Linked DNA regions of Homo sapiens: region 2 is linked to region 1. Evidence: promoter capture Hi-C in 16 types of primary human blood cells and fetal thymus (Javierre and others, 2016). All regions are on one chromosome and are shown on one strand. Each heading gives the region's core, a stretch centred on a gene start or on the middle of the fragment in contact. The rest is flanking DNA. Distances are from core to core; before and after follow the strand shown.

Evidence for each region. The method cuts DNA at HindIII sites, captures the fragments that hold promoters and counts their contacts. A CHiCAGO score of 5 or more calls a contact.
Region 2: a contact is called between a fragment that was not itself captured here and the fragment with the promoter of LIN28B in region 1, in 1 of 17 cell types (fetal thymus). The highest score is 13.6, in fetal thymus.

Annotation. Positions count from the first base shown.
Region 1 is chr6:104,955,839-104,959,526 of GRCh38, forward strand. LIN28B (lin-28 RNA binding posttranscriptional regulator B) reads left to right here and starts at 1,269. Exons shown (of 4, transcript NM_001004317.4): 1 at 1,269-1,422; 2 at 2,261-2,448. The coding sequence starts at 1,413. RefSeq lists enhancers at 282-1,219, 1,220-2,157. The HindIII fragment of the contact is 2,336 bases long and covers 1-1,642 here.
Region 2 is chr6:105,989,830-105,993,971 of GRCh38, forward strand. It overlaps a transcript of PRDM1 not described here. Among named protein-coding and RNA genes, the nearest start is that of PRDM1, 94 kb to the right of the region's middle. RefSeq lists a silencer at 2,677-2,886 and an enhancer at 3,417-3,951. The HindIII fragment of the contact is 2,207 bases long and covers 1,436-3,642 here.

The DNA of each region.
Region 1 (3,688 bases), core at 19-2,518:
AGGAAATAAAGTCTTTTTAGTTAATCTATAATATTTATTATAGTATTCGATAAGGGCAGAAATACTGTTGCCAGCATCTTGTAATCAATCGTTTGAACCAGTTTGAAAGGTAAAGGGGGTAGGCATTTTGAAACTGGGGGTCAGTTGAGGAAGGACAGTAGGAGCTTCATCCGTTGTTACATTTTCGTTTATTCAACTCTTCTAGCCATTGGTAGTGGACTTTTAAAATGTCAGGGTACAAGTCAATATGATATGAATTTACCTTTTTTCTCCCACTTGTCCTTCTTTCTCCACCCCACCCCCTGCCCGCGCCGGCTTTTTTTCTCTCCCACCTCTTTCTTTGACTCTGCTGCCGCCTATCCTGGCGGCTCCTCTTCACCTCCCCTGCCTGGCGATCCCCTCCCCCTCCTGCCCTATGTCCTCCAGCTCTTGGGGAACAATCGCCACTGATTGAGGTTCACTCTATGTTAGGCTGGAAAACTGGGCTGTTATTTAGGAAGTCATTAATCACATCTCCTCCCCCGGAAAGAGATGGCAGAGAAACCTGTGAAGTACAATTCCTTACCAACCCCCTCTAAAATTTTCCAAAATGGTTTACCTAAACACAATTTGACTATATGAAGGTGAAAACGATTTTTCTAGTAGGATTTTATTTTAAATTTGAAAAAATTTCGGGCATAATCAGGTAATTTATGTGCCTCTGCCTTTTCCTAGGTGTATGTTTTCATTATCTAAAGTTTCATGGGGATGTAATTAGGTTTAATTAGATCTTTTATAAATTATATATTTTCCTCTAAGAATTGAATTAAATATGAAATTAGCGTTCCAAGCAGGTTTACTGCCATGGAATAGCTGAATTCTTAAGGGGAAAAAAAGCGTTAACATCGGTTGTTTTATTTAAACGACCCCCTCCCATGATTTTAGTCAGGCTTGTGTGTAAGGCACGCGTGTGCACATATATGACTGCCTTTTTTTCTAAATCTATGATTCACAAGGTCCCTCCATTGTGTTTAAGTAGAAGCACGAAATCAGCATTCTGATTTATCCTAAAGAAGCGTTCCAAATTGTCTTTAAGATAACATGTTTGAGTTTTTCGTGTTCATTCATAAATTATTTTGATGTCAGCATAGATGAAATGGCGATTGGTTATCTCTTCCTCTTGCCAGCCCCTTAAGGATACGAGGTGAAATTAGTAGCAAGAAAGCATGTAATTGACAAAGTCACGTGTGCTCAGGGGGCCAGAAACTGGAGAGAGGAGAGAAAAAAATCAAAAGAAGGAAAGCACATTAGACCATGCGAGCTAAATTTGTGATCGCACAAAATCAAGATGTTAGATTGATGCAGAAGATCACTCCGTTCCAAAGGGAAAGTTTTCATCTCACGAGTTTGGAGCTGAGGGCCCGTGGGGCAACATGGCCGAAGGTTAATTTTCTTTTCTATTGTTTTACTGTGAATTTCTTTCTTCTTTTCTCCTCCCCCTCCCCCTCTCCCACCCTTCTTAGACCGTCCCCCCCTTCCCCTTTTACCCCAATACTGGGCATTACCTCCCAACCCCCCATCACGCAGTGGGGCTTTCTGCAAACCTATTGTTATAGATCTCCAAAAATGTTTTGTACCGCCCACACTGATTCACAACTTGAAAAGCTTTCAGGGGGCTATTGTTTGAATTGTGTGAGTGTGATTAAGCGCAGTTTCAGTTAGTGATTCCAAGAAAACTTTTATACACCTGCCCCCTCCCCCATTCCACCCCAACTTTAATTGAAAGTTATGGGGGGGAGGGGAATGCACATTGCAAATAACGCTGGATTCAGTGCTGCCCCATGTGCCTTAACTAGTAGCTCTAAACCATCTTCACGATTTCTCTTTCCTCCTCGTGCCCGCCGGAGAGAATAGTTTCGCTGAAAATTTCTCTTTGTCAATGGGATCAGTATTAAATCAGCAATATACAAGTAAAGTATCGCATGCTGTAATGTAAAATGTGGCTGAAAAATGGAGTTAAATGAATAAGTACACGTATGTATAGAAACGTGGAAGTTGGTGTGATCGATAGAACAGTGTGGCTTCCCCCTCCCCCGCTTTCCTTTTAACCCTTTTCATTTTAAGTATTTTCTGTGGAGAAAAGAAATCAAACCATTAAAAAAAATTTTTTTTTTCTGTTACCCTTCCCCCCCAACCCCAGGCAGGCAATTTTTTTTTTTTAATCTTTGAATGCACATTGAATGGGAATACAGACTGACTTTTTTGTCCTGTTCCTTCTCAGGCGGGGCTAGCAAAGGTGGTGGAGAAGAGCCCGGGAAGCTGCCGGAGCCGGCAGAGGAGGAATCCCAGGTTTTGCGCGGAACTGGCCACTGTAAGTGGTTCAATGTGCGCATGGGATTTGGATTCATCTCCATGATAAACCGAGAGGGAAGCCCCTTGGATATTCCAGTCGATGTATTTGTACACCAAGTAAGCCAAACTTTTTTGTCCCCCTCTTCATCTTTTTCCATGTGGAGGAGCTGATCGGTAGTTATGCCAATAGACGTACGATAAGATGTCCTTCGGTATATTGAAAGACAAAATCTTCCCTGAAATCACTAGGTAGTCCAACGTTTAGGGTACGTGTATGGGCCTTTTCCTGGGTTTTCTGTCTAAAGAGAAAAGAAAATATTTGAAATTTCACTATATATATTAAGGTTGACGTTATTAGCATTTCCCCCTGCTTCATTCTACAGCGAAATAGTGTTCTTGTTGTTTCCGGTATTACCTATACAATATACTTTGTCGCCTGTATCTGGTGAATGGGTAGAAAAATGAAGAAACATGATCATTTTAAGGTTGAAAAAACAAAGCGAAACAGTTTGCTGTGGAAAGAAATGTATAGATTGCCTTATTTTAGACACCTCTAGTCACAGTAGCTCCCTTTATTATTTCATCGCTGCCTGTCCTGTAATCATTTTGTAGATTCAGATCAAAATAATTTGACTTCATAGTAAAATAAAATAGAACACTGTTGGCCTAATGTGGTTGTAAAGAAATGCGTGCAATAGAGGGATGCTTGATAAACATTTTAGAAATGTGCTCCGTGTAGTCATTGGTCTACGTATACTGTCTCTTTAAGAGACTGAACTCAAAAAAACATGTGGCCAGAGGCGGCTCTTGCTTGTGTGTTTAAAATGTGCTGGTCTGCTACTTGGGGTAAATTTCCACCTTTGCTCGTATTGTGTTGTAATTTTTAAAGATGTTTTAATACCAAACAGAATTTCATTGCTTCCCATTTTCAAAATTTTACCCAGGAAATAATGAATTAATACTTCTGCCTTTACTCCTCTCTACTGCTTAATCCCTTTATAGTAAAAAAGATACTTTTATGGAAGCCGGTTGTTTCCTCAAAAAAAGGTAAATATAAATTTTCTGTAGTTAGAAATAAAGAGGTTTACGACTAAAGAGGTTTATTTTGGCATGATAATCTAAGTTAAAAAGAATTGAATGAAAGGCTGTTAATACTACAGATTGACTGACAGATACATGGGTGAAATATTTGGTATATTTGCTTGAAAAGTATATATTTGATACTGTGTTGCATGTTCCTAGTAATATTTATACCCCCTTCCCTAAGGAATATCATCTTCAAATTAAATATATAAACAATAGAAACATATGAAACCATTCTGTTTTGATCTGTTGTCCTGTGGTGCTTGGTAGCTTC
Region 2 (4,142 bases), core at 1,289-3,788, 1.0 Mb after region 1:
CACTCCCCTGTTGTCTCTCTGCCCTCATCTCTTGTCATTCTCCCTGCTCTCTTTTTGCCTCTCCTGGGTATGCTAAGCACGCTCCTACCTCAGGGATATGCACGGGCTGTCCCCTCGGTGTAGATATTTTTCCTCTGTTTCTTCACATAGCTCACTGCCTCATCTTTTGCATCTTTGCTCAAAAGTCACCTTTTCAATAAAGCCAACCCTGACCAACCTATCTAGAATTACCCTCCCTCGTCCTATCAATTGTGCTTACTTATGTTTATTGTTTACTGATGTGATCCTTCCCATAACATAAGCTCCACAAGGGCAAAGATCTTAGCTTTTTTTTCCCTGAGACATCCCAAGTGGCTAGGACAGTAGCTAGCACACAGTGGTGTAGAATGAATGAATGAAGTGTGGCTAGAATGTGAAGTCAGGGCAGGAAGGAGAGAAAGGCAAAGCCAGAGAGAGGTACAGAGCCTTAGAATGGTGGTAAAGAGCTTAGATTTTTATCTGGTAAGTAATAGGAAGCCTATAAAGGTGAGTGGCATGTCCAGATCTGCTTTTCAGATAAGTCACTCAACAAAGGACTGGAAGGAAATGATAATGGCAGAGGCTTACAGTGAAGAGGCTGCTGCAGCAAGGGAGCCAGGGAGCAAGACAAGGAAGGCCTAGACTGGAGCAGCAGGAATTAGAAAGGAAGGGAAGGGGCATATCTGAGGCACAATTAGGAGTTTAAATCAGGCAGGACTTGATAACTGACTTAAAGTGGAGGGCAGAAAAAGAGAAGATTCGAGCATGGCTTCCAGGTTTGTAGTATGGATGACTGGGAGGTTGAACTAAGTAAGATCTAGAATGTCCAAAGGGAGAATGGTAGGAGAGGTGATGAGTTTAGCTCCATATATATCCAAGCGGTTTCTTTGTCATTTGTGAAAGAGGGAATTTGGAGCACAGAAGAGAAGTTTAGACCAGAGATATTCTTTCTAGGTGACCTAGTGATAATTATATTAATTTTAAAGGGAAAACAACTTTCATTTCAACCATCCAAATTGGCTTCCAAAAGCAGGAATTAAAAAACAGCTATATTTTAAAATTAACATTTTACATATCTATTCTATGTCATTTTTTTCCAGATAGCAAAACAAAAATGATCTTTTTGGTTATTTAATTAATTCTTATTCTGGACTGCACTTTTTGGTAGATTTTCAGCTAACTTCCCAGAGAAAATAATAATCTCTTCCCCCAAAAGAGTTACCATGTTTGCTTGTGAAATAGCTAGTGGGATAAGACCATACCCTTTCATTTTGTAAAAGTATAAGGGAGAAGTTAAGGAAATTCAAAGGCCATATTATATATTCAAAACAAATTTGAGGAAATACTTTCAAAATGATGTGTAATTAGTTAGTGGAAGTTACTATCACGACCAAAGATTGAAGCAAATTGCTTTATAAGCTTTCCCTTCTCCCTAATCAAACCTGTATATAAAAATAAAGCATGGAAGAATGGACAATACTATATTGTCACTTAAAACTACACACAGGAGGAAGCATAACTTGTTTAACTTTAACAATAATAATTTATCGAGCATTTACTTTGTACCAGTCATTGTGCTAGGCAACTGTCAACACTTTACCTGGTTTCTTCTTACCCTCTGAAGTGTACAAATAACAAATAAACAACAACAACAAAAAAAAAAAACAAAAAATCCCAGAAGTCTTAAAGTTTGAGCAACTTGCTAAAAGTTTTCAGGTGTTGGAGAAATCTTTTTAGAGAGGAGAAAACAAACCATTTTTTTTCCTTTCAAAGATCCAATTATTTATTGCAACTTGCCCTGACTTGTTACAGATGGACACTTGAAGGTCACCGTAGGCAAAAGAGCCTGACTGGTTCACAGGTTGCTGCTGTGCTTCAGAACCTAGTAAGTCAGGCACTGGAAAATGTGCAACATGTAAAATAACACTGTTATATAAATGTAAGAACAAATGAATGGGCCAAGCTCATGTTAGTGATCTGGAATGGTTTCTTTCTATAGGTGAACTTATTTAGGACTATGGAAGAATGTTTTAGTCAGTGACCAGCCGCGATAATGACTGATAAGGGCGGTTAGTGATAAGCGATAAGGACAGGTACAGACATAGGACCGCTGGCTGGGCTCATCCAGAGCTGGCGCGCAGCCCTCTCCCTGCACTCGTACTGAACTGAGTCCAGTCCAGTCCCCCACAGGTTAGAGGTGAGACGGAAGCCATCGTGAGTTTGTTTTTTCAGCGAGTGCCGTTTCCTAGGTTGGATGACAAGCCAGCTTTGGTGGCCCTTCGCTCTCGCTACCCTAATAAACTACCTGGAGCAAGTCCTTCTTCAGAAACAAATCACCACGTCAGCGCTCGGAGGGTGAAGCCCCTACTACTTTCTACTTTTGGTTGTGATGCTGGAGGCCCTTACAATTTCGCAGAACGTTTTGTGGACGCGCGAGCTCAGTGTTGCCCTTGCAATGGGGAAAACACCTGCTTTCCGGGTCCTCGTCCTCCCGGGAGCGCGGACCCTGAACAGCCCCCGTCCGACCTCCCCGGCTCATCACCCCCTTCCAGAAACGCATGGAGCTCTTTTTCTTTGGACTGCCTCTTTTTTGTACTGGCCATCTCAAAATCAAACAAAACAAAAAACAAAAGAAAACAAAACAATATCACTCAGGTGTGAAGCCCCAGTGCAGAAAGTGAAAGTGGGACTAATCCCGGCTGCTGCAGCACCGCCGAGTGAGCGCCAGGGAGGGGCGGGGCTCCAGGGCACGGCGCCCGGTCACGTGACGCGCGTCCGCCCAATCCCAGCGGGCCCTCGCCGCGCGCAGAGCTGGGCCTGGGTAGCTCTTCTCTCTCAATGAAAGCTATATTTTGGGCTGTTACCACCTAAACGCCATGTGGAAACAATGCACCTCCCTCCACTTCAGGTCCCCCTTGCCTGTAAACCTCGAGAGCTGGACGTCCCTTAGCCTGGGAGTTCCTGGACACTGTGCACAATCACTCGTCAACCGCTACCTACTAGGTAGGCGGGAAAGAGCTTTGCTTTCTAGGCGTGTGTCTCCAGATGGGCCCAGGAAAGATAGGGCCTCAGTTCTCTCTGGTTTGTTTGCTGGGGAGGGAGTTAGAGCTGTAAGCCTCCTTCCTCCAAAAGGATGGTTGGAGGGAGTCCGAAACCTTTGGGTCCCAAGACATGACCTAAGGAGTCCCGCTGTCGCCACTCTTCCCGGTTTGGTAGAGGGGGCCCGTGAGTGGCATTTAGCTCTCGCAAAACTGGGCAGATAGACGCACATGTCGACCCTCCTTTTACAATATTTCAAAATAATTCTGCATTGTTTCTCTACTGGAATCGTTAATTATGCATAACTCAGTATCTTAATTTAAAGGAACTGAAGTCCTAACTTTGGGTTAGGTTCTCTTACAAAGACTTCAGGGATGTTTAGCTGGCATCTCGGGTTTGATCCCCAAAATCCACCACGAAACAAAAGCTAGCTTTCCTAAACTCAGTAACAATAGGAGAACTGGTTTAAGCCACCTCTGGGTAGGCAACCCCCACCCCTAAAGCCCTCCTTACTCCAACCTGCCCCTAGGTATGTTTGTGTAATCAGAGACTGATTGTAGCTGCTTTGACGTTTCTCCTCGGGAAAGCTTAGTTTGCATTCATTGAAGTTGCTTGCTTTCTAGGTTCATCTAGGCCAGCAGGGAAGGTGCCACTTGGAAGATTGCTGGGTTTCCTGCTTCGAAGTCTTCAGGAGCGGGCTGAGCTGCGCTGGTGTGCCGCTTAGGACTGCAATGAGGAGGGTGACGTTAGAAGGTCTTTAAAACGTTACGTTTACTATTTTAGGAAACAGATTTTCAAAGAATCAAGGGTAGGGGACAAAATACATTTGGGCTAGGATTTTAGTGAAGAGGGATCACGCCCAGAATGAGGGATAGTAAAAGAGTGGTGGTATGGGGCTCTGATATCGCTTAATCTGTAATCTCCGGCAGTGTTGATAGCTCTCCTCTGGCATTAATTCTTCAGTCTTTTAAAACGGAGTAGAAAGGGACGTTGGATTGATCATTACGGTTTGTTTGGAGAATAGAATTTCGTGTCACCAACTTGGAAGGGTAAATGAATTGCAGAGTCGGATACAGCTAATTTGG